6 separate regions of the Homo sapiens genome follow, and all the other regions are linked to region 1. The links are contacts of gene promoters, found by promoter capture Hi-C in blood cells and fetal thymus (Javierre and others, 2016). All regions are on one chromosome and are shown on one strand. The core of a region is centred on a gene start or on the middle of the fragment in contact, and the rest is flanking DNA. Distances in the headings are between cores, read along the strand shown. Region 1 holds the start of FAM136A (family with sequence similarity 136 member A). Region 2 has its middle 3.1 kb from the start of FIGLA. Region 3 overlaps FIGLA (folliculogenesis specific bHLH transcription factor). Region 4 holds the start of SNRNP27 (small nuclear ribonucleoprotein U4/U6.U5 subunit 27). Region 5 overlaps MXD1 (MAX dimerization protein 1). Region 6 holds the start of ASPRV1 (aspartic peptidase retroviral like 1).

Region 1 (4,209 bases), core at 816-3,315:
AGCGATTCTCCTGCCTCAGCCTCCCGAGTAGCTGGGATTACAGGCACCTGCCACCATGCCCAGATAATTTCTGTATTTTTAGTAGAGATGGGGTTTCACCATGTTGGCCAGGACGGTCTCAAACTCCTGACCTCGTGATCCACCCGCCTCGGCCTCCCAAAATGTTGGGATTACAGGCGCGAGCTACGCGTCCAGCCAGGAAACTTTATACTACACAGTATACATTCTGTATTTGGTGGTTATGTCAAAAGGAACAAACAAACGCCTCCTCCCCAACAAACTGCATAAGGGCTCTTGGTCATGAACTCCCCTGGTAACTCCCCATTACATCATTTCTTTTTTTTTGAGACAGAGTCTCGCTCTGTTGCCAGGCTGAAGTGCAGTGGCGCGATCTTGGCTCACTGCAACTACACCTCCTGGGTTCAAGAGATTCCCCTGCCTCAGCCTCCCTAGTATCTGGGACTACAGGTGCGTGCCACCACGCCTGGCTAATTTTTTGTATTTTAGTAGAGACGGGGTTTCACCATGTTGGCCAGGATGGTCTTGATCTCCTGCTCTCATGATCCACCTGCCTCAGCCTCCTAAAGTGCTGGGATTACAGGCATGAGCCTCCGCGCTCGGCCTACATCATTTCTATAGGAAATGATGTTCAACTTAAGGCACTCGACCGCCAAGACTTTTTCCAAAATTTCAAACCCTGTGAAAACTGGTTGGCCATCAGTATCACAACTGTTAACAGAACCAAGACACTAAAGCCAAGAGTTTTGAACAAATGCTTGTCATCTCCTGCAAAAGTCTGTATCAAGGACTACAGTGCTCTGTCTAGGATATTTCTCACCTGGAACTTCTCCAGCTCACTGGTGACCAAAGCCTGGGCTTGAGCCAGAGGCACATGGCAGCGCTCGATGCACTGGTGCACCTGCTTCATGGAGGCCTGGCTGTCCTCACAACAGCTGGCGCTGCACCGGAACATGAGACCCTGGGGAGAAAGGGCAGAGAGGTTAGGTAGGAAAGTCTCTGGGGACAGAGATGACTATGGAGCACTACAGGAGTTAGAAGGCCACGTGGATATTTGCACCTCTCTCTCCACCTTCTGCTTTCACCTTCCCTGAGAATAGACACCAGGACCTTAAAACCACCACTGGGGAAAATTATCCTCAATGTCTAGTGTAGTGTTTCATGGTGTCCTTGCTGCTAGCTCATCGGCACCTGTTGCACCGATGGTTGGGTGAACAGAGGTTCGCCCGAGTGGGTGAGGGTAGGGTGGTCTGACGAAGCCAAATTCTGAAAACCAGGAGCCTCTTCCATGGGGTTCAGAGGTCAGCAACCTAGCAATACAAATTCCACCAGAGGGCAGCCGACCCACTAATCAATGACTCAAGGGGCACTATCTGGGAAACGCATACTCCGTGAGAGAAGCAGGACCGAAACACACAGAGGCATTGCGGGGCTCAGAGAAGAACAGTGTAGAAACCCGCGCTGTGTGAAGCGAGGTTGGGCGCAAGAGAAGCAGGCATGACCTGGCCAACGGGGAGGCCGGAAGTCCTCGCCTTTCTGGTCTTTCACGTTGGCAGCGCCTCTGCTGGGCCTCGGGCCGCTCACCTGCGGAAGGGGCCGCGTAAGAGGGGAAGGTGGTGGGGCGAGCGCCTGCCACCAGGGGCTTCCCACCTGCCGCCGAGGACGCTCCTGCCCCGGGCTGGAAGGGGCGGAAAACAGCCTCGCGCACGGCAAGGGCACACGGATTTCATCCGATCCGCCAAAGCTTCCGAAGTCCTGTCCGAGGCCGCCCCGGCGACCCCAGGGCCGCCCACACCCGGTCTGCGGGGACGCGGCTGCAGTGCAAGGCGTCGCGTGGTGGCTGAGGGAAGGGCCCGGAACCCACCCGCTGAGAAGGGGGTCCTGGTTCGGCCCCAGCCCCGCTACCTGCATCTTCCGGATGTTCTCTCTTTCCAGACTCTTCACCATGGACTCCACCGCCTCCTGCACCCGGAGCTGCTGCAGCTCAGCCATGGCGACCCCGCGCTGCCCCGCGGCGCTCCGCGCCGGCGCCCATATGGAATCGGCGTACGGGCCCGCCCCCTCACCGCCCTTCGCCGCCCTTCGCCGCCTGCCCTTCCAGGGCCCACGCCCCCCCCTGGCGGCCGAACGGAGCCACTGCATGCTGGTGTCCGCGAGCCCACCGCCCTCCTCCCGCTTGGGAACCGGTCACTGGGACACCTGCCCTGCGGCTGCTGCCTGCCTTTCCTCCTCCCTCCCATGTCCCTCCCTTTACATTCTTTAAAATTATTTAATGTAATTTACATACAGATAAATGCCCAGATCTTAGGCGTGCTGCTTGATGAGTTTTAACAAACCCTGTCCGCCGGGCGCAGTGGCTTACGCCTGTAATCCCAGCACTTTGGGAGGCCGTGGGCAGGTGGATGACCTGAGCTCAGGAATTTGAGACCAGCCTGGCCAACCTGGCGAAACCCCGTCCCTACTAAAAATACAAAAATTAGCCGGGTGTGGTGGCACATGCCTGTAGTCCCAGCTATTTGGGAGGCTGAGGCAGGAGAATTGCTTGAACCCGGGAGGGAGAGGTTGCAGTGAGCCGAAATCACGCCATTGCACTCCAGCCTGGACGACAGAGTGAGACTCTGTCTCTAAACAACAATAAAAACCCAAACTCTGTCTTGTCCCAATCTCCGTCCTTTCTACCCCATCTCCCCACCCCTGCCCTAACTGGTCTGCTTCTGTCACTGTAGATTACATTTTCTCTTTCTAGAATGTCATATGTATGTTATTATCCAATAAGTACTCCTTTTCTGTCTGGCTTTTTTAGCATATTGCTGAAAAATACTTAGCCTAATGCTTTCGAGATTGAGCTGTGTTGTTGGTTCTTTTTTGCTGCTGAGTAGTATTCTATTGAATGGACATACCACATTTGTCGTTGTTGTTTTTTGAGACAGGGTCTTACTCTGTCACCCAGGCTGGAGTGCAGTGATGTGGTCTCGGCTCATGCAGCCTCCACCTCCCTGGTTCAAGTGATTCTCATGCCTCAGCCTCCCGAGTAGCTGGGATTACAGGCATGTGCCACCACGTCTGGCTAATTTTTTTTTTTTTTTTGTAGACACGGGGTTTCACCATGTTAGCCAAGCTGGTCTCCAACTCCTGAGCTCAAGGGATCCACACACCTCGGCCTCCCAAAGTGCTGAGATTGCAGGCATGAGGCATCGGTCCCGGCCCACATTTGTTGATCCATTCCCCTGCTGATGGGTGTTTGGGTCTTTTCCACTTAGTAGCTATTATGAATAAAGTGGTGACTATGAACATCCTTGACCATTTTTTTTTTCTTTTGGAGATGGGATCTTGCTATGTTGTCCAGGCTGGTCTCAAACTCCAGGCCTCAAGCTATCCTCCTGCCTCTGCCTATCAAAGGGATTACGGGTATGCACCACCACCCAGTCCTGGACCAAGTCTTTTGTAGACACAGATTTTCTTTTCTTTTGGGTAAATATCTAGAAATGGGATTGTTGGATCACAGGGTAGATGTATGTTTATGCATTTATTTCTCATAAAAAATGAACTTCAGAGACAAAGCAGGGGCTACAGATCATCAATGAAGCAGTCATCAATGAAGCACTTACATGCCAGCAACATGAAACTGTTTCTGAATTCCTGGAGCAGTTTTTTTTTTGGAATGCCTCACTGTCCCACCCATAACAGTACTGTCGTGTGCATTCATTTATCGAATACATTAGCTAGGGGTGCGGGTCCAGAGGGGAGTGTCAGTGGAGAAGGGAAACACACTCCGTGGAGAAGGGGAAGGGGCAGTGTTGGAAGAGGTGTGCTGGAGGAGGTGGTCCAGGCTGGCAAGGAGGGAGTGAGCCATCCGGGTTCCTCAGGAAAGTTTTCTTAGAGGAGATAAGGCTTGAATTGAGGCTTTGAATTGAATTGAAATGAGTGGGTGTTTGCTTGGCATATGGGGCTGAAGAGAAAGCCATGTCAGGCATGGGGGTGCAAGGTGGGGGTGGGGGAGGAACAAAGGAATGGGGCCGTCATTAGAATTTAACGATTTTCTGCCATTGGGCGCTAGATGGCAGGAGAACTCTAGTTTAGGGCAGTGGGGAGTTTGACTCAACCCAAGCTTCTTTGAAGAAAGCTATGTTTTGATTGGGCACGGTGGCTCACGCCTGTAATCCCAGCACTTTGGGGAGCTGAGGCAGGTGG
Region 2 (4,209 bases), core at 774-3,273, 490 kb after region 1:
TTTGGTGTACGAATGATCCCGTGGCGTAAGTAGTGAGCCTAGTACCCAATAGGTATCCTTCCAACCCACGCCCCCCTCTTACTTCCCCCTCAAGCAGACCCCAGTGTCTATTGTTTCCATCTTTGTGTCCCTGTGTATTCAATGTTTAGCTCACACTTATAAAGTGAGAACAGGCAATGTTTGGTTTTCTGTTTCTGTGTTAGTTCCCTTACAATAATGACGTCTAGCTGCATCCATTGATCTATTCTTTTTTTAAAGTTTTTAAGTTGCAGACATGCTGTCATATCACCTCTAAATACTCCAGTGGGTATTCCCCCTAAACAAGGCCTCTCTTCCACATAACCGCAACACAACCACTCAAACTAGGAAGTAAGCATTGGTACTGTGCTACCATACAATCCATGGACCCCATCAAAGTACCACCAGCTGTCTCAACAATGTCTTTTTCTCTTCTGGTTGGAATCCAATCCAGGAGTACAAGTTTTATTCTGTTGTCATATTTCTACTCTCCTTCATTCTGGACCATTTCCTCCATCTTGTCCTGTCTTCATGCCCTTGACAGTTTAAAAGAGTAGGGGCCTTTCATTCTGTAGTATGTCCCTCGACCTGGGGTTGTCCACTATTTGCTCATGTCCAGACCCCAGCCATGCCTTCATGGAGGGGCTCCATATAAATGATGCTGGGCTCTTCTCAGTGCATCACATCAGGAAGTACATGAGGTTGATCTGCCCCACCACTGGTGATGTTAACCTTAATCGCCTGGTCAAGGTGGTGGTGTCAGGTTTTTTCACCATAAATTGATAAATATTTTGTGGGCCAGGCACGGTGGCTCATGCCTGTAATCCCAGCACTTTGGGAGGCTGAGGCGGGCGGATCACGAGGTCAGGAGATTGAGACCATCCTGGCTAACATGGTGAAACCCTGTCTCTATTAAAAAATATTAAAAAATTAGACGGGCGCGGTGGCGGGTGCCTGTAGTCCCAGCTACTCAGGAGGCTGAGGCAGGAGAATGGTGTGAACCCGGAAGGCGGAGCTTGCAGTGAGCCTAGATCTGTGCCACTGCACTCCAGCCTGGGCAACAGAGCAAGACTCCGTCTCAAAAAATAAAAATAAAAAAAAATTTTGTGAGGAGATACTCCTTCTCATCCATTGTTGACTCCTACCTGAATCAACCAGCACTACAATTAGAGGCAAATGATTGGCATTCTACTGTGAAAAAGAGCTTTCCCTTCTTCCCATTTATTTATTCATTTTGTATTTATGTCAGCATGGGCTCATGAATTTCTATTTTAGTCACAGGATATAATTTATTTACATCATTATGTTAATGCTCAAATTGTCTCAGATTTGGCTTATGGGAGGCCCTCTAAGCTGGCTCCTCTGTCCTTTTCATATGACTCCCTCATTCTTTGTGCACTTTCTCACTTGTCCCAGGAAGGCTCTTCTTGAATTTTCCCAGCCCCAGCCCAGGGATCAGTCTATTCTTCTTTTAGTGGAAGGTAGGATTTAGAAACCAAGATCTGTGTGCTTGCTTGCTCATTCCTTTTGGGATGTCATTGCTTCTAAGCCCTTTTTGCAGATATGACACATATGTAGGTAAGTACACATGCATGTATTATATTATAATAATGCATATAATATCCTCTAATATAATATAATGCATATAATAACTATATCTGTGTATCTAAGTACATATATATTTAAAACCATGAGTTCACACTAATACCTCCAACTCCAACCCAACACCTCAGGTTCCCTCTAGTTTCTCTGCTTTCCTTTTTTGTAACTCCTCACCCCATATCTGCTTTTGTAACTCCCTTCTCCAACAATGAGAAGCTTGACTCACATTATCCTCAGTGTAATTACTTATTTGCTCAATCCCTGTACCTAACCAATTTTCTAACCACATCAGCCACCTCTTAGGCCCCACCCTTCTTCAGCTCCCACTCTGACATTGCCTCCCAGGAAAGGTCAAAGGAAAGAAGGGGACACACCAAATGTTTGACTGAGGTTCCTTGAGCATGGCCTGGGAATGGGGAAGTGTGACTGCACATCACATCCTCTATATAGCTTATTTCACAATAAACACGGGCCACTTCTGTAATTTAAAATATATTTTTAAGTAGGAAAATACTTTGTTTGCGCTAAGTTCATTTGGTGTTGTCTGCTGGCAGGCAGATGGAAAGCAACAAGGGCCAAAAGTGTGGGAAAAAGCTTAAAATGGAGATAGCTTACCCATTTACTTAACTTTCCTTGAAAGCATCATAAAGGACATCATTGATATTATTCTATTTTATTGCCAAACCTTGCAGTGAACAAGGTGGTGTACATTAGGAACCCATTGTGAGCACACCAGATTTGATTCCTTCATACCTGTGTTCTTCCATAAACTCCAACTCTTAACTTTCTGGCCTCTGGTCTGTTAGATTCATACGTTATGTCATTGTTCTCAGGGAAAGCAATCATGTGAACTGATTTAAGCTAAAGTGTTACACCTGATGGTGACTTAGGGCTGATACCTTGCCATACACCCAATAATACAATGGCCTAATGAACAAAAAGTTTCACTATCCTCTAACAGTGTGAAAGGTTTAGGTCAGCTCTGCTCCTCAAGGTCACTTGGGGACTTAGGTTCCTTCCAAATTATTGTTCTTCCATCCCTTAGGGTCAACTCCCCTACAGCATTGTCATCATTGGCATGGCTGAGGCTCGGTAGCCACCGTATCTGGGTTCCAGGAGAAGGGCACGGAAGAGATCTTAAGGCCTGACCAGAGGTGGCACATAGGATTCAACTCACATGCCATTGGCAGGAATTCACACATGGCTACACACGGATGCAAGAAAGGGTGGGGGAATGTAGTCTGACTGGGGAGCCATGTGCCTGGCTACAATTCTGTTCAATGGGGAGAACGCATTTGGTTGACAACAGGAGTCTCTGTCCTAGTGCCCCTCTTCTGTGCTCCAGTAGTGCCCATAAGCCTCTGCGAGATCATTTATTTCTCTTATTTTGGCTCCTTGAAGGAGGATCACTGGCCACAGCATCTCCAGCACCTACGGAGTGCTGGCTTGGCACACAGTAGACATGCAATAAACATTTGTTGAATGAGTGAGAAGGCAAATGAATGAATGATGCTTGCAATGAAGTAAAAAAGCTACTTTGACATGGGTAAAATAAGAACCTGCTTATTCAGGTAAAATCTTTCACGTTTTGCCATAGCTGCTTGACCCTATAATATATATTTGTGAATAAATAAATAGATGAATGAAAAAGCTTACCTAAGTTTACATAGAAAGTAGGAAGATCTCTCTGCCATGGAAAATTGAAGGATAAGTGTCCTCTTAGATGCTGGTGATATACTATGGTTGATATACACAGTACTGGCTCAGTTGCATTCATCCTATACTGCTCTATGGGTCTAGTAGGGAGTTTCCTGTTCCAGGCTGCCTGAAGTATGTGAACATCTTTAGGTCCCAGAATGCATTGCTCTCCTTGTGTTTGCTATTCCTGCTTATTGCTCTTCCTTTGTGGGACCAGACCTCTTGGGATGCAACTGATAACATCCTCTCTTTACTGCTTTTTTGTTTCCTGAGTCCTAAATACCTTGTAGTCCAGTACAATGCCAGCCGAATGGAGTCCACCCTTGGAGTAAGGATGGGGACACACAGCTATCTCAAAACACAATGCCTTGAAGAAAGGGGATCCCTGTCTAGTTTGCTGATTGATACAGACACTAGGTCTCTGAGTCAATGGTGCAAAAAGCAGGATAAGGCTAAAGGACCTTTTACCAATTTCTTATTGTTGCTCTGTTTCAAAAAGCAAGACATGTGCTTGCTTCAAATCATGTTTCTGACCTCAGCTCCATGACTATTACAGGTAGTCGGTAAAATTTCTCTGGCAATTGAGTTACTACCTGTCTTGGTTTCTGCTGCTGCTGTCAGTTTTGCCTTTTTCTGTGTGTTATTATGTATTTTAGAGGGAAATGAGAAGACTCTTGGTCAAATGCCATTTTAAAGAGAAAATTCCCCTAATACTGGCTTTAAATAACACTTTTTTTTCATTTAAAATTAAGAAAGCTATTTTTTCACTTAGGGAGAGTTAGAAGGCATGCAGTAAGAAGGAACTCTTCACCTTTGCCTGATGACATAAGGCTGGGTGAGATGATGACTTAAGGCTGGCACATATTGAATGCTAACAAATGTCACCATTAT
Region 3 (4,209 bases), core at 1,165-3,664, 470 kb after region 1:
TAAAGGGACTGTTGGTAGAAATATGGATGTTAAAGATATTTCTGGTAAGCATTCAGAAAGAAAAGAGGAGAGCTGGAGAGAAGCATTCATCTTCTCAGAGAATAATCAGAAACAGAATGTTGGTAGAAATAAGGCTGAAGCATGAGAATTGCCTGAACCTGGGAGGCGGAGGTTACAGTGCACTGAGATTGTGCCATTGCACTCCAGCCTGGGTGACAGAGTGAAGCTCCATCTCCAAAAAAAAAAAAAAAAAAAAGTGATCCTGCTATAAAGTGGCAAACAATCTGGCTGAATAGCATTCTAGTGCTTTTGGGAAGGTAGAACTTGCAAGTGATAAAATTAAATATTTAGCAGAAGCGATTTCTAAACAAAGTATTAAAGGTGCAGTTTGGGTCCTCCTTACTGCTTATAGTAAAATTCGGGAAACATGAGATAAACTGAAGAAATCAAAAGCAAAAAGGAATCAGAGGCTGGGTGTGGTGGATCACGTCTGCAATCCTAGCACTTTGAGAGGTTGAGGTGGGTGGATCACTTGAGGCCAGAAGTTCAAGACCAGCCTGGCGGACATGATGAGACCCTATCTGTACTAAAAACACAAAAATTAGCTGGGCATGGTGGTGCATACCTGTAATTCCAGCTACTCAAGAGGCCGAGGCATTAGAATCGCTTGAACCCAGGAGGTGGAGGTTGCAGAGAGCCAAGACTGTGCCACTGCACTCCAACCTGGGTGATAGAGACTCTGTCTTAAAAAGAAAAAAAAAAAAAAAGGAACCAGAACTTGGGGACTTGGAAAATTTCTTAACCTATCCATATTGCAAAAATTAAGAAAGCTTACTCTGAAGAGATCACTAAGGGTGTGGCTGAGCAACCATTTGATAACAGATCATGAGTGTGACTCATATACTTAATTAGCCATCTCAGCTGAAGCCAGGAATACCGACGGGATTATACCAGAAAGACCCTGATAGCTGGAAAGAAAGGGGACAGAGAAAATGGGAAAGAATGAAGGTAAGCTGTCAGCCTTCTCAGATTCTATAGGACTAGACCATATCACTATTTGGCTACAAACATGCACTATTTAAGCAAAGGAAAGAAATGACCCCAAAGGCAACTCAGAGATCAGGGTGGCCACTCAGTGTGTGTGTGTATGTTTTGGAGGAGGGGGCACAGGCAGGAGAAGAGCTGAGTTCCTCCTCAGTTTCCGAGGGAAGGTCACCCTGCCAAGCCACAAGGATGACACTGCATCAAAGCAAAGAGGATTTATTCTTGAGGCTTAAGATATAATGGAATTTGCCTCAATAGGTTTTGGACTTGCTTGGGACCCATTAACACTTTGTTTCCTATTTTTCCTTTTTGGAATAGGAATGTCAATCCTACACCTGTCTCACCATTGTGCTTGGGACGCACATAACTTGTCTGGTTTCAGAGGTTCACAGCTGGAGAAAGATAGGAATCATAGCTCAAGTCTCACCCATACCTGATTTAGAAGATATTTAAATGAGACTTTGTACTTTAAAGTGAGAATGAGTTTAGATTCTGGGGGCTGCTGGGGTGGAATGCATATATTTTGCATGTGATAAAATGAATTTGGGGGAAGGGCTAGGGACAGAATGCTATGAACAGCATATGTTCACCCAAAATTCATATATTGAGAGCCTAACCCCCAATAAGGCTGTATTTGGAGACAGGGTCTCTAGGAGATATTAAGATTACATGAAGTCATCAGGATGGAGCCCTAATCCAATAGGATTGGTGCCCTTATAAGAAGAAGGGAAACCAAAGCTAGCTATCTCTCTGCCATATGAGGACACAGTGACAAGGCAGTCATCTGCAAGCCAGGAAGAAAGCCCTCATCAGAAACTGAACAATGCCAGACCATAATCTTGGACTTTCCAGCCTCTAGAACTATAAGAAATAAATCTCCGTTGTTAAGCCACCCAGTCTATGGTATTTGTTAAGGCAGGCTAAGCTAATTATACTTTCTGTACCTTGGTTTTCCCATCTGTGAAATGGGGATACTTATGCCATTATCTTACGCTTGTTGTAAGAACAAGTTAACACATGGAAAGCATAGAGAACAGAATCCAGCATATAATAAGTACTATGTCTTTGTGAGCAATGGTTATAAAGACGAAGTCTTTGTGCTCAAGGTGTTTGGCTGTCTACCTTGCACAAAAGGTGCCATTTGGCCTTAGCTGGGTATCTAGAAACCCTTGAAAACTCTCACTCCCCTTGGCCAATGTTTACAACTCTTTTAGCTTAAGTCTTCATTTCTATTAAGGTTAATTTCTATTGGAAGGGTAACAGTCACTTATTTCTCAAAGCAATGAAAAAAAGATGTAGGTCCCCAGAGGATGACAGTGAGTTGGAAGCAAAGGATGAAGCCCCTGAAGCCTATTTCTTCAAAGCATGAAGTTAAGGAGAAGGCAGAGTGGAGTAAACTTGAGAGAGGCAAGGCTATTTAAAAGGGTAATTGTTAAACTCGGAATTACTACAAAACTTCTTTTTTAAAAAAGAGACTCCCACGGGGCACAGTGGCTCATTCCTGTAATCCCAGCACTTTGGGAGGCTGAGGTGGTTGAATCACCTGAGGTCGGGAGTTCGAGACCAGCCTGACCAACGTGGAGAAGCCCTGTCTCTACTAAAAATACAAAAATTAGCTGGGCGTGGTGGCGCATGCCTGTAATCCCAGCTACTCAGGAGGCTGAGGCAGGAGAATCACTTGAACCCAGGAGGCGGAGGTTGCAGTGAGCCGAGATCACACCGTGCCACTCCAGCCTGGGTGATAAGAGTGAAACTCTATCTCAAAAAAAAAAAAAAAAGAGAGACTCCAAAACTTTCAAGACTGCATTTATTTGTCTCTAGAAGGTAACCCTGGGCCTTTTCATTTTTCATACTTGTGGAAGTCTGAAACAGAGAAAACATTCCATTATAAATAGTTAAAAATAAGAACCGTTTACAAAAGAAATAAAGAAATATGCAAAAAATTAATTTTATTAGTAATCAAAGATGTTTAAATTTAAAGATACTACTTTTTTACCCATTAAGATTCCTTCTTTTAATAGAGCTCATTGCTAAGAATGTGATGGAATTAGCACTCTTATTATACAGCCAGTGGTGTTATAAATTGGCACTATGCATCAGGTTATAGAATGACCTACCTGTGACTCAGCAGTTCTACTTCTGGGAATCTATCCTGCAAAAACAATACAAAATACAGAAAGGGCTAAACACATCGGTTATTTGTCACGTTTAAGAGAACAAAAAACTGAGAACATAGTGGCCAACAGTAAAAAAATTGTCCCACCTAATGGGTCACATAAACATGCCAGTGATAGAAAAATCAAGAACAGGCACACAATGTTATGTACCTGATGATAATTTTTTATTTTAGTTGCAAAGGAAAAGAAATGGGAAGGATTTTAGTGTATTTCCATCAGTGGTTTTACTAACGTGGCAAGATCATTTTGTCTCTGCTCAATTTTCTGAAACTCTCAACTTGAAGAAAAAATAAACCCATGACTGAAAAATAAAGCCGCTCAAGTCATGGTCAGGCATTTTGGATACTGAAACCTATTATGTACATCACTGTGGATGGTAAAGCACCGCAATCAAATGCTTTAACTTAGCCTTAAACATTTATCTATTTTCTAGTCCACCCTCCTTTACATTTCAAAGTTGAGTTTTGTTAGAACGAAAGTGGTTAAAAAGGACTTAACACTATCACCCACATCCCCCCCAACCCCAACACTTCACTGACTTGCAGGTATTGGGCAAGTTACTTCTGTTCCTTAGTTTCCTCACATGTAAAATGGATATAATTGTTTGTATAGCACAGGGTGGTTGTGAAAATTAAATAGGTTAATATGTATACACTGCCAGGAGCAGTCTCTGACACAAAATATGTATGAGTAGCTTTTTTTTTCTAATCTTGATCGAGTCTTTCCACTATACAAGTGATCAACATTTCTTTCTTTTTATAGTTCAGACCTAGCTTTGGAAGCTTTATTTTTAAAATAAATTTTAATTTTTTTCATATTTAGAATTTTTTATACTTGAGACAAATTCATATAAATTTACCTGAAGGATTAAAGGATGACAATATTCTGCCTATAGTCTACTGCATTTTAGAACATTTATTTTAGTTTGTTTTTAAGAATTAGCTGGAAAATTTCAGAAACGTAATATTTAAGTATGAGAATAGAAAAA
Region 4 (4,209 bases), core at 1,235-3,734, 410 kb before region 1:
ACAGTGAAGAGGTGTCTTCCTCTGTCTGCCTCCACAGCTAGAGTGCAAGCTCCTTGAGGCAGGGACCATGTCTTACTCATCTTTTCAATCTAGTGCCAAAGGGGTATAGTGTCCTGTGCATCGCATGCATTCAAAAAATCTTTGTGTATTCAACTGATCCCCAGCATACCTTCCAATCATTTTTAGTCCTAGAGGGGTTTCTTTTTTTTTTTTTTTTTTTTTTTTTTTTTGAGACGGAGTCTCACTCTACCGCCCAGCTGGAGTGCAGTGGCGCGATCTCGGCTCACTGCAAGCTCCACCTCCCAGGTTCACACTATTTTCCTGTCTCAGCCTCCCGAGTAGCTGGGACTACAAGCACCCGCCACCACCTCCGGCTAATTTTTTGTATTTTTAGTAGAGACGGTGTTTCACTGTAGTCTCGATCTCCTGACCTCGTGATCCGCCCGCCTCGGCCTCCCAAAGTGCTGGGATTACAGGCGTGAGCCACCGCGCCGGGTGAGGGGTTTCTTAAAAAGCATTTTCATCAGATGAGACCCCAGCCCTGAGGGGAGAAGGAGAAAGAGAAAGAGAAAGAAAGAGTATTTTCAGCCACCACCTGAGGCCACCATGTTCTTCCTCTCTTACACATCTAGTACATACCCCCTTAGGCTTCCCATAAATCCTGTCTTTCCTGTGGATAATTTCTTCAATCATTAGTGGTGTGCTTCTTCTTTCTTTTTTTTTTTTTTTGTTTGAGACGGAGTCCCACTCTGTCGCCCAGGCTGGAGTGCAGTGGCGCAGTCTCAGCTCACTGCAACCTCAACCTCCCAGGTTCAAGCAATTCTCCTGCCTCAGCCTCCCAAGTAGCTGGGATTACAAGCATGCGTCACCACGCCTGGCTATCATTAGTGGTGTGTTTCTCCAATGATGTCCCTAAATCTTCTTCCCTGGGGTCTGCACCTCCCTTGAACCTCCCCATTCTACACCTAGTGCATGCTTTGCCAGGGTAATTCCAAAGGCATCTGGGGGTTGGGGCTGTTGGTAGAAATCCTAGATGTCATGGCTGGATCTTTCCTGGAAGTTTGGGTTGGGACAGGTATTAAACAGGCCACTCTGAATGTATAAATCTAATTAAAAATTTATGTGATTGGTGGGCATTTTTTCCAACCTAATAAAGTCCCTTTCCATCCCCCAGCTCTTTGTATTTTAAAAGCCAGGTCACTAGACTTGATAATTCTAGAGAGAGCTGACTGAAAAGAGTTGGTTTGATTAGAAACAGAGGTTCAACACTTTTACACTGTTGGTGGGAATGTAAATTAGCTCAACCATTGTGGAAGACAATGTGGTGTTTCCTCAAAGACCTAAAACCAGAAATACCATTTGACCCAGCAATCCCATTACTGGGTATATACCCAAAGGAATATAAATAATTTTATTACGAAGATACTTGCACGCATATGTTCACTGCAGTACTATTCACAATAGCGAAGACATAGAATCAACCCAAATGCCCATCAATGATAGACTGGATTAAAAAAATGTGGTACGTATACACCATGGAATACTACACAGCCATAAAAAGGAACGAGATAATGTCCTTTGCAGGGACATGGATGGAACTAGAAGCCATTATCTTCAGCAAACTAACACAGAAACAGAAAACCAAACATTGCATGTTCTCACTTATAAGTAGGAGCTGAACAATGAGAACACATGGGCACAGGGAGAGGAACAACACACACTGGGGCCTGTAGGGGGAGGAGCTGGGGAGAGGGAGAGCATTGGGAAGAATAGCTTAATAGATGCAAGGCTTAATGGGTTGATAGGTGTAGCGAACCACCATGGCACACATTTACCTATGTAACAAAACTGCACATCCTGCAAATGTACCCTGGAACAAAATAAAATAAAATAAGAAATAGAGGTTTGAGTCTTTCCTGGTAAGCATATTTATGCTCTACCACAGACGGTTCAGCCTTGGGGCAAGACAGTCTTTCTCCTAATTTTTGTAGTTTTGAACATTCTAAAGTTTTTGTTGTTGTTGTTGTTGTTTTCCCTGAGGACAGAGGCAACTTTGGGGAAGTACTTTGTCGGGTAGGATGGAATCTGGGGCCTTTAGTTTTCCTTCCAAGAGCCCATAGGAGGTTTTGGGTGCCTTCTCAATGCTGGCATGAGAAAATATAAAGCAGATGGACAGTGAACTTTGGTATATTCACTCCTTATGAATGTTATGTGGAAAAGTGGAAGAACATAAGCTGTTTGTCTATGCTATGTTTACAATTGGTTTGCTCTATTTTGTGCATGTGGACAAAAATGGGGGAAAAATGAAAGCTGTGTTAGGATAATGGGTATACGGCTGAATTTTCCAGGAATTTCTATAATAACACCAAATCGCATGTTTTAATGCCCACCGTGAACAAAGAAGACCGGAACCCTCGCAACTCGTTTTGACGTTTTCTGGTCGGCGGTAAAAGCTCGGTTCCCGGCCCTCCCGGAAGTTGTTGCACAGTTGTTTCCGGGAAGCGGGACTCCAAATGGGTCGCAGTCGCAGCCGCTCTCCACGGAGGGGTGAGTCCTGTAGCAATTCGGAGGATATGGGGCTCTGTTGGAGGCCTGTCCCTTTTGTTTTATTTTGTTTTGTTTTTGGTAGCCGCGTAGCAGAGAGGCGGGCCCTTTTCCCAGGCGGAGAGCGAGGGGTGGATAAAGGAACGTAGACCTGGGCCCTGCCCTCTTCAGCCCGCCCTCTCCGGTTTGAAGGCAGTTGTTTGTCTCTGAATTAGTTTCATTAAGTCTTTGTCACCTTCATACAATAACTTTTATTACACTGTGGCCGGTGGGTTTAGAATTAGACCTCAGTTCCTTTGCTGAATTTCTGGGCGACGGTGGGCAAGTCACTACTCAGCCTTTCTGAATCGAATTCCCAGAATGAGTCATTGAGGGTAGTATTGCCAACTTTTAAAAACTGATGTGAGAATTAATGTCACATCCCATAACATACAGTATGTGATTCTGCCTGGTTCTTAAATACTTAATAAATGTTAGATTCCTGCCCAGGTCATTACAGGGAAATCGATATTAAGAATTTTGAGTCCTGGGAGCTCACTTCGTAATGTTTTCTGGCTACCAGCCCCATAAATGAGGCAGCGCGACGTAAAGAACCCTGGACTTCCATTAGGAGATCTAACTTAGACCCTCGGTTCTGCCCCTGATTCGTTTTTTTTTTAAATCAATTTATTTATTTTTAATGAGACAGAGTCTCGCTCTGTCGCCCGCCCAGGCTGGAGTGCAGTGGCCGATCTCAGCTCACTGCAACCTCCACCTCCTGGGTTCAAGCGATTCTCATGCCTCAGCCTTCCGAGTAGCTGGGATTACCCGTCCGTGCCACCACGCCTGGCTAATTTTTGTATTTTTATTAGAGACGGGGTTTCGCCGCGTTGGCCAGGCTGGTCTCGAACTCCTGACCTTGTGATCCGCCCGCCAGCCTCACAAAGTGCTGGGATTACAGGCGTGAGCCACCGCTCCCAGCCTCTTTTTACCTTTTTAATGTGACTAGTAATGGTTTGCATTATTTTTCTACTGGACGGCGCAGCTCTAGATATTTGAGGTAATTATCAGTTCTGCAATTTGTGTGCGTTTGCATTAGAACGTAGGCGTTCCCGGTCCACATCCCGGGAGAGAGAACGCAGGCGCCGAGAAAGGTCCAGGTCTCGGGAGAGAGATCGGAGAAGGAGCCGCTCGCGATCCCCGCACCGAAGACGCTCCCGGTAAGGGCAGAAAATAAGCCAAGAGTTTTATTTACCGAAAGTCCCTAAGAAACTGGTCGCAGCTCTTAACTTTGTTTTCATCGCTTATAAGGGGATTTACGGTTTCCTGAAATGGAGGAAACTTAATCCAACCTTATTCTAAAGCTAACATTCACCTTGGTTAAATGGTGCTAATAGTACTCTACATCACAAAGTTGTCTTGAAAGAGTAAGTAAGAAATAATGCATGCAAACCCCAGAGCATGGTGCTTGGCAAGAAAAAGAAATAAGTATTTTATATTTTTGTTTCTTTCTTCCGTTCCTTTCCTTTCCTTTTCTTTTCCTTTTCCTTTCTTTTCCTCTTTTTTGAGACGGAGTCTCGCTCTGTCACCCAGGCTGGAGTGCAGCGGCGCAATCTGCTCACTGCAACCTCCGCCTCCCCTGCAATCTCTGCCTCCCCTGGTTCAAGCAATTCTGCTGCTGAGCCT
Region 5 (4,209 bases), core at 1,104-3,603, 380 kb before region 1:
ACCGTAGTTCTTAAAAGCTGTGAATCTCACTGGAGATTTGGTTCATGGTCAGTTAAATCACATATTAAAGTCCTATGCATAGTTTCTGGTACATGCAAATAGTCCATCAATGTTGCTGCCCGTTTCCCCCCTTCTTTGCCCTTAAAATATAGTTGGCTAGGAAATTTGTTCTATTAGATCCCTTCAACTATACCTTTCCTGCCAGTAAATTAAAAGCATTGACCTTTTCGTCACTAGTTTAGAATCCTTATCCCTCCCTCACCCTCATGAATAACTCCTTGCAAGTATCTATTTGGATATCCTCTGTGGCTTAATACAGACCAGGAATTTCCCACTTAAACCTAAAAATCACTTGTTCTTGCTGCGTCTTCTGTACTTGGTTTACCTCTTTAGTATCGTTAGTGGAACCACAGGATGTGAGCAGCATTACTTGTGCCATGCCCTTGAATAAAAATGGCACTTGAAGGATCAACCTGGTAATTACCTGGTAGGTTTTGCTTGTCCTCCCACCTTAGCATTACCTGAAGGTGGTAGCCAGTAGTTTTGTGCATGGGTATGAAGGCACTTTAAGAAAGATGTTAATACTGACTTGTAATATGCAATGGTGTAAAACCAATTAAGCTGTGTTGCATTTTGTTACAATATTTTTTTAATTTTGTTTAGAAGAATTTTGAGGCCTTTCAGTTAATTTTTCTGGAAAAGCATCATCCATTTTTGCTTTTATTATTGTCCACTAATGATTTGAGAGGAATTGTCCAAGTTACTTATTGAGGCTTAATACCTTAACACTTTGTTTTTTTCCTTAGTTTCACAGGAAGGTTGTAGGGGATGTTCACTAGTGGGGATAAGAAAATGAGATGTTGAAGTGGCTTGGTCCCAAAAGGTGATTAGGAAAGAAAAATAATAGTAGTTAAGAATCTTAAGCCAAGAAATGGATTCTTTCTAGTATCTTCTCTTTAATAATCAGTACTATGCCAAAAAAAAAAAAATAAAGGCTACAAATCCTTCTGTTAATGGGTTGGTTTGCTTTCCATGGTTAGAGACGGGATTATCACAGTTGTCCATACACCTGACTGATAGTGAGTTAGTGTAATATATTCAGTGGTGTAAGGATTTCTGAGAGACCATGATTAAACCTAGAGGTAGCACCAGCCAAACGTGTGAGGCAAGAGCAGGCAGTTTTCTTTCAGTGTGATCATTTCCTTCATGACTCATTTGGAATAGCTCCTTTTCTGAGGAACAAGCAATCATAATGGAGAAAGCAGCTTGACCCCATGGTTTGAATCGGCTTTATATCCTCAGCCATGTATGGTCAGAATTTTGAACTGAGGTAAAGGATAGGGAGAGATTACTGCTGGTTTACATAACCCTTGGATAACAGTTTATTCTTGTTCTTACAGGTTGAAATGCTGTGCTTTTTGCTTGTAGAGTCTAGGGAAGTACTTTTCCTTGGACAATAAAAGATAAGATTTTGCCACATAGGAAACTTCTTGGGAACTGAAAATGCAGATCTTATTCACGTTTCTCTAGTTGCTTATTAAAACAACAAAAATGAAAATGAAATTGTGAATATCAATTGTTTTTGAAATTATCCATAGAACTGCTGGAATATGGGAAGATGGAAGTTTCTTTCCTACTGATTTTTGAAGTCAATTACTAATTATTTAGAATTGAAATCTAGAACTTCTTAAAAGTGTGTTTTGTTCAATGAGTAAAGCAAGCTTTGGCACTCACGTGAAAGAGGAAGTTCAGGACTTGCCACCCAGTTGTTTTATAAGACAGTGGCTAGAGTGACCTGACATGAGGAGTGTTTTTGAACCCAAGAATTTTTCCTGGTTATCTCAGATACGCCGTAATTTGGCTTAGTTTTTTTTTATTAGAGTGTATTTTTAAATGGTGAAATTTGACCTTTATCAGTGATTCCAGAGTTATCCATTGTTTTCCATAATCACATGGAAAATAGTTTTGACACAAGGTATCAGTGTGTTCTTACAGTGCTTTAATTAAAAACGTAAATGTTTACCCATCAATGGAGGTGGCTGGCAGTCTCGGAACTGATCATTTTTGAAAGGGCTGCTTTTTATTAATAACTCAGTTTCAGTAAACTAGATGCACTTCAGTAATGCTCTAGCCATTAAGTACAAGTCCCCCTTTAAAAAGCACCATGTGTTTAACACTCGAGTAATCAAATAAAATCTGTAGTTTTAAAAATTTTGTTCAAATTTTGGAAGAAGTTGTGCTTCCTATGGAGTTTGTTTAAAAGTTTATTTTGGGGATTCAGAATTTTGCATAAGTATATAACTCTATTTATTAGTTTATATATTTTCAAAGAATCCAGAAATATTTTGGTAAGAATTTCCTGTGTGCTGTTATTTTCTACTCTCTTCTCAACCTATTCACTTTCCTCTCCTCCACCTACAAGGGGTGGTCCTTGTCTACAGTTAAAGAGGGTAATCTCAACCAACTGTTGGCATATACTTTCATCCATTTTATTTTATTTATTTATTTATTTTTAGACAGTCTCGCTCTGTTGCCTAAGCTAGAATGCAGTGGCACCATCTCGACTTACTACAACCTCTACCTCCTGGGTTCAAGTGATTCTCCTGCCTCAGCCTCCCGAGTAGCTGGGATTACAGGCGTATGTGACCATGCCTGGCTAATTTTTGTATTTTTAGTAAAGACGGGGTTTCGCCAGGTTAGCCAGGCTGGTCTCGAACTCCTGACCTCAAGTGATCCACCCACCTCAGCCTCCCAAAGTGCTGGGATCCCACTATGCCCATCTACTTTCATCCATTTAAAAAAATCTGTCAGGCTTTGAACTTACTAGTCCCGGTTAAAGTTAAAATGCCACGTGCTTTAGAGCCAAAGGTTTGCAGTATATGCCAGATTCTTGTTAACTATAGTATCCTGTTGGCCATTGAAGGCAATAAACCTTCAGAACAATGTGACTGGAGAATGCTGAGGGATAACCAAGTGAATCAGTGTAAAGCTTTTATTTCTTTTTAATTGAGATGGGCTCTTGCTGTGTTGCCCACACTGGTCTCCAACTCCTGAGCTCAAGCAATTCTCCTGCCTCAGCCTCCCAAAGTGCTGAGATTACAGGTCTGAGCCACCATGCCTGACCATTTTAAAGTTTTGTTTTGTTTTGTTTTGTTTTGTTTTGTTTTGTTTTGTTTTTGAGATGGAGTCTCCCTCTGTCGCTAGGCTGGAGTGCAGTGGCACGATCTCAGCTCACTGCAACCTCCAACTCCCTCGTTCAAGGGAGTAGCTGGGATTACAGGCACGCGCCACCACGCCCGGCTAATTTTTGTATTTTAGTAGAGACAGGGTTTCACCATGTTGGCCAGGATGGTCTCAATTTCCTGACCTCATGATCCGCCTGCCTCGGCCTCCCAAAGTGTTGGGCTTACAGATGTGAACCACTGCGCCTAGCCTGAAACTTTTAAGTTAACCAATTTTGGATTGGTTTGAATACATGAGGTCCATATATTGTTTACCTAGAAAACAAATATTCTAAACTTAAAATACTGTCATTTTCTCATTTATTTTTTCTTCGTGAATAAAAATTGATTCCTAAGATCCCTGTGAAAGAGAAGTTTAATGCTAGGTTGGAAATTTCTCATTTCAAGACAACCTCCTCACTTCCGCTGCCATCCCCCCACATTCACTCTCCTTACCCCCATTCTCTGATGAGTGAACTTGATGTTGGTGCCCCTGATGTAAATGAGTGGCTGAGCACTCTTGAGGTGGTATTCCTCCATGATTGCTGTGAGAATTTATTTCCTAAGCCCAGTAAGGTGCTGATTATGGCCCCACAGAATTCATGAGCTGAACCAGGGAGTAAACTCCTGAGCTGGTTAAATTCTAGAGAATTTTCATAGAAAGGTCAAGCAAGATTCAGCTCCTTTATAATACTGGTAGCTTCTTCCAAATTTATAACTGGTTAGGAAGGGGTTGTGTGAGGAGGACACTAAAGGGGCCACATTGACTTCTTATGACTTTATGGTAACTTGTCCATAAAGTCTTAGGCCAGACCTTGTCTTTAAGGTCAGCCATAAATACACTAATCATATGGTTTCATATCCATCACACCTTTCATCCAAGGCTCTCTAATCAGTTTTACAGCTGTTACCTCATTGGTCCATACTTGTTCAGTAAATAATTCGTAATTATTTTTATTCTCATTTTATAGACAGGTTAACCAGTAAC
Region 6 (4,209 bases), core at 430-2,929, 340 kb before region 1:
AAAATCCAAGACCTGTCATCCCTGTGTATATGTTCTTATACCTCCAGCTAGGCACTCAGTAGACATGTGAATCTCCCTTGTCTTTGATGCTGACTCCCTCTCACATTCCTCTCATCCTCAATCAACACATTACATGGTTTTTCCATGAATCAATCTTTATTGGTGTTTGCAGCAATTGAATTATTGGCATAAGGCACAATGGGCTTCAAAGCAAATGACAGAAAGAAAATACGATTGTACAGGTGGAAAGGCTCTTCAGGGAGGTGTCCCAGAGCAACTGTGACCCTCACAAAGACCCTGCAGCTAGGACCCAGCCCAACTAAGACAGGCTTTGAGGACCTGAGAGTGACCAAGCCATACCTCAGGGAATCTGAAGGGGTCCCACAGTTCTTTCAAAGACAAGCATTTCTAGCTTCCTTGGGAGCTCTTCCAGCCTTTGAGTCTTTGTCATCAACAGCAGCTTGATGACCATGGGGACCCTGTCCCTCTAAGCCAGCCTGCTCTCCCTCACCTGTGCCTGTTCAGTGGAAGCCTCCCCTACCAGGGGCAGATTAAGGCCCCTGCAGAGGGAGGCAAAGGGGAGAGAAGAGCAAGAGTTGATAAGCAGACTGGCCAAGCCCAGTGACCCCCATGAGGATATGCAACCCCCCCCACAGCGGTGGGTCTTCCCACCAATATTTAGGAGGTTAAAGAAAAGGTGGCTTCTCAGTGGGATAGCTCCTGCCGCCCTTCTTCTGAGGAGGGGTCCTCCTCTATGAGCTCCAGGTCAAACTCATCTTCCAGGGACCCTCCCACAGGCAGAAGGCGAAACTTCTTCCCTTTCAGGGTGCATGTGCGGTGCTCAAAGTCCAGGATAGCATTGTGGTCCTGGAGCACATCAGTGCCAATGATGGCTTCCTCGGCACTCGCATTGGCCACTAGGAACTGTGCCTTCAGCTTCAGCTTGCCTAGGGACACCGCTGTATCCCAGACACCCAGGATCTTCATTTCAGCACCATTGGCCACCTTTACCACATTCTCAAAGGGCTGCAGGGTGTCCAGATCGCCATCAGTGACCTCCTCCCACAAGTTTGGGTGGACCACAGAGACCTGGGCCCCAGAGTCCACCAGGAACCTCACGGGCACTTTGCCAATCTTCCCCTTGAGATAGTAGCCCTTACCCATGCTGTTGGCAAAGACGATCTCTTTGGGCAGGTGGCTGGGGGCAGCCCCAGGGACCCCAAAGGCCTTCAGGAGGGCCTCTTTCACAGTCCCATAGTCTCCCTGGTCCTGGGGACTGAGCCTATTGTAGACACCCAGGGCCTCTCCTCTGAGGGACTCTTTCAGGAACCTTAGCTTGGTGATATGGTCCCAATGGTTGAGGTCATTGATGACTTCAAAGCTGTGCAGCCAGAGGTTTGGGACGACATTGGCCCCATCAAAAGGTTCCGGGACGAAGGCATGCTGCCGGCGGCCTTCCTCACTCCTGGCTCCGCTCCCGGCCATCCTGCTGCTCTCCTCTGGAACCTCAGCAGCAACCCACGCCAAGAAGAGAAACCCACAGAGCAGTGTCGGCGCAATCACGCTGGAAAACGGGGCCTCTCGAAGCAGAGTGGGGATGACTTGCCCGGCCTTGGGCAAGCAGGAGGGAGCAGGCGCGGTCGGCTGGCTGACTGCTGGGGCAGAGGCAGGCAGTGCTGTGGCCTGTTCACTCTGCAGAGCCTTTTTGATGCCTAGGCTGGCCCCTGGGCTCCCCATTCTCCTTTGTTCTGGAAGCTCCGCCCCTCCTCACCCCGCCCTCCTGCCAGCATCCGGCCGGACTAGCAGGATGGGTGCCTCACCCTCTGCATCCATCCTTGGACCAACACCAGCCAGCCCACATCCCAAGAAAGGCCAGCCTCTGTTGAAGGGGGACTACCCTGTACCCTCCCTGGCCTGTGTTCCAGAATAACAGATGAGGACACGGAGGATGTGATGACATTCAGGTATTTGTCATCAGCCAGTGAAGGAAGGGGAGGCAGGGACCAGACGCCCATCAGCTCAGAGACCGGGGAAGCCGCCATTGGCCTCCCCAACAAGTGACTACTTTGAGTGGTCAAAGGAAAACAGTTTACATGTACTGAGCTCCTACCACATGCCAGGCACTGGGAAGTGTCTCACACACATTCTAAAGCAGGTATGGGATCCTATGGGATTTCCTGGAGAGGGAGGCAGAGGAGGGTTCCAGCATAAAGAATGCACAGAAATGGTCTTTTTTAAGTGAGTGAGGACACACACACACACACACACACACACACACACGTGCACAATCATCTTACATGGACTCAACTGCTGCAGTAATTTTCCTTCATTGATCACCCCTGATTCAGAGGCAGAGGGGTGGCCAAGCAACTCTGGGTAGGCCCCATACTGCACTCCATGAGCATTGTCTCCACCCTATCCACCCCTCTCCATTTCCAGGAACTGTTCCAGGGCCCCTTCCCCAGGCACTGCAGCACTTCCTCTCCCACTCCCCAAGCTGGTCATTTGTGGAAAGATCACGGGAAATTTCACTCCCTTTTCATTCTGAGAGGGAAAATGTCCACTATGTTGGTGATGCCAGTGGTGAGGACCTGGAGGGCTCTGGCTCTGTGCCCCTCGCTGCAGGGGTAAAGGGTAGCACGGGAGGACATCCAGTCGTCTACAGAGGACATCTGTGAGTCCAAGGGCTGGAGGCCTGACTTGGGGCTGTGCAGGGGCTGTTGAAGGGATCCACTTTTATGTCCCCATTCAAAGGTCACTCCATGGAGCCTTCTGCCTGTCCCTAGAAAGGGCACCCACTCCTCGTTGAGCGTGTTTTACGGTGTGATCTGGTGGTTTGTTCACAAGTCTGCCTCTTGCTATGAACCAGAGTCTGGGGCTCACAAACCTGGCATTTGTGATTGTCTCCAGCCCCCAGAACAACTTCCTCTGGGACCCAGGGGCTCTTTGCTGGGCTCCAGGCCTAGCTGTGTGCTGTCACCAAACAGGAGTGATTAAGGATGGGAGAGGAGGAAGACTCGATGGCACACCTGTGGCTCTGGGGCTGTTTTTCCTGGCCAAGAGCCTGTCCCTCTTCAGCTCCCTATGCCATGCATCACCCAGTGCCTGGCGGAATCCCAGCAGTACCCTGCCTTTGGACAGTCCTGCCTCTGGATGGCCCAGGTCCCCAACCACAATGCAAGACTGTGCTGTCCCCAGCCCCTTCCACCTGATTCAGTGAGCCAGCAGAGAGGCAGTTGGGTCAACACCTCTCATCACAGCTGCCTGGCTAAGGTGGGGCCATTGTGGCATTCCAGGAGCCCAGAGGAGGGGAAATGGAGTCACCGAGAAGGTGTTGAGAGCAGGTGGTTCTTTGAGAAGACTGTATAATGAAAAACCTGCATCCAGAGAAATGGCCCAGCCACACGCAAGACCAGGAAGCCCTTTCTGCAGATGGACTTTTGCAGATAGCTTCCCAGCTGCTGGGATGAGTGTTGTTCTGTGGCTCAAAGAACTGATCCAGTGGTTTCCTGATTCCCTGGTATTCATTACCTCTGCACATCTGGTCCCCTGGAAGTGGAAATGAGTGAGGAGGTTAGCATGCGACCAAGGGAGGAGCGAGGCAGGTGGCTTGTCAGCTGACAAGCTGGGACTGCCAAATGCCCTGAACCGGCTTTTCAAACCATAGTGGTAGATGTTGAATTCCGATCTCCCTACTGCCCTTAGACTAGAAATCGGTGGTCCCTTGGGACCTCATTTGAGTGGGTTTGGTGTTCACATTGGCAAAGCATTTTACACACATCACCTCCATGAGGAGTATAACAACCTGGGAAGAAGACCAGCTCCGCTCCAGGACCCTGGAGCACAGGAGCTTCAATGGCCTCAGGTCCCAGGCTTTCCAGCGGCCAGAGAAGGGGATTTTGCAAGGACAGGGAGGTGAAGCGCTGGGCTGAGAGAGGTATAGCATAGGCGCCGGGGGCAGGGGTCTGGTGGGCAGTGGACAAAGAGCTGCTTGTTAAATATTCAGGAATTTGGTGAGTCAATTGTTAAACCAATTGGTACTTGAAATCAGACTTGGTGGAAGTATTTACATCACCAAAATTGGCAAATGCTAAATCAAGACTTTTTCCCCCTCTGGAATGCCAGTTCCATCACACCCCTGCATGGAAGCCTTGGTCACACTGACTCTCTAGGGCAGGCAAAGCACTGTGGCTGGTGATGAACAAGTTT

What was found. The method cuts DNA at HindIII sites, captures the fragments that hold promoters and counts their contacts. A CHiCAGO score of 5 or more calls a contact.
Region 2: a contact is called between a fragment that was not itself captured here and the fragment with the promoter of FAM136A in region 1, in 1 of 17 cell types (M2 macrophages). The highest score is 5.2, in M2 macrophages.
Region 3: a contact is called between a fragment that was not itself captured here and the fragment with the promoter of FAM136A in region 1, in 3 of 17 cell types (M2 macrophages, M0 macrophages and M1 macrophages). The highest score is 10.1, in M2 macrophages.
Region 4: a contact is called between the fragment with the promoter of SNRNP27 here and the fragment with the promoter of FAM136A in region 1, in 4 of 17 cell types (neutrophils, total CD4 T cells, non-activated CD4 T cells and 1 more). The highest score is 7.6, in neutrophils.
Region 5: a contact is called between a fragment that was not itself captured here and the fragment with the promoter of FAM136A in region 1, in 1 of 17 cell types (non-activated CD4 T cells). The highest score is 5.4, in non-activated CD4 T cells.
Region 6: the fragment with the promoter of ASPRV1 here is called in contact with the fragment with the promoter of FAM136A in region 1 in 1 of 17 cell types (total CD4 T cells); the score reaches 5.3 in total CD4 T cells.

What each region holds. Positions count from the first base shown.
Region 1 is chr2:70,300,002-70,304,210 of GRCh38, forward strand. It overlaps FAM136A (family with sequence similarity 136 member A), which reads right to left and starts at 2,066. Exons shown (of 3, transcript NM_001329752.2): 1 at 1,603-2,066; 2 at 839-979. The coding sequence starts at 2,010. RefSeq lists enhancers at 402-1,351, 1,352-2,300 and silencers at 1,986-2,255, 4,059-4,188. The HindIII fragment of the contact is 2,364 bases long and covers 1,761-4,124 here.
Region 2 is chr2:70,791,623-70,795,831 of GRCh38, forward strand. No RefSeq gene overlaps it. Among named protein-coding and RNA genes, the nearest start is that of FIGLA, 3.1 kb to the left of the region's middle. The HindIII fragment of the contact is 378 bases long and covers 1,835-2,212 here.
Region 3 is chr2:70,774,476-70,778,684 of GRCh38, forward strand. It overlaps FIGLA (folliculogenesis specific bHLH transcription factor), which reads right to left. Exons shown (of 5, transcript NM_001004311.3): 4 at 3,162-3,196; 5 at 2,835-2,907. The coding sequence ends at 2,892. Among named protein-coding and RNA genes, the nearest start is that of ADD2, 8.4 kb to the left of the region's middle. The HindIII fragment of the contact is 3,173 bases long and covers 829-4,001 here.
Region 4 is chr2:69,891,472-69,895,680 of GRCh38, forward strand. It overlaps SNRNP27 (small nuclear ribonucleoprotein U4/U6.U5 subunit 27), which reads left to right and starts at 2,485. Exons shown (of 6, transcript NM_006857.3): 1 at 2,485-2,547; 2 at 3,623-3,743. The coding sequence starts at 2,514. RefSeq lists enhancers at 2,110-3,045, 2,788-2,847, 3,046-3,980. The HindIII fragment of the contact is 14,817 bases long and covers 1-4,209 here.
Region 5 is chr2:69,916,852-69,921,060 of GRCh38, forward strand. All of the region lies in intron 2 of MXD1 (MAX dimerization protein 1), which reads left to right. Among named protein-coding and RNA genes, the nearest start is that of MXD1, 3.8 kb to the left of the region's middle. The HindIII fragment of the contact is 1,268 bases long and covers 1,720-2,987 here.
Region 6 is chr2:69,959,952-69,964,160 of GRCh38, forward strand. ASPRV1 (aspartic peptidase retroviral like 1) reads right to left here and starts at 1,680. Exons shown (of 1, transcript NM_152792.4): 1 at 138-1,680. The coding sequence starts at 1,485. The coding sequence ends at 706. It overlaps PCBP1-AS1 (PCBP1 antisense RNA 1), which reads right to left. Exons shown (of 11, transcript NR_033872.1): 11 at 2,312-3,549. RefSeq lists a silencer at 1,566-1,860. The HindIII fragment of the contact is 12,271 bases long and covers 1-4,209 here.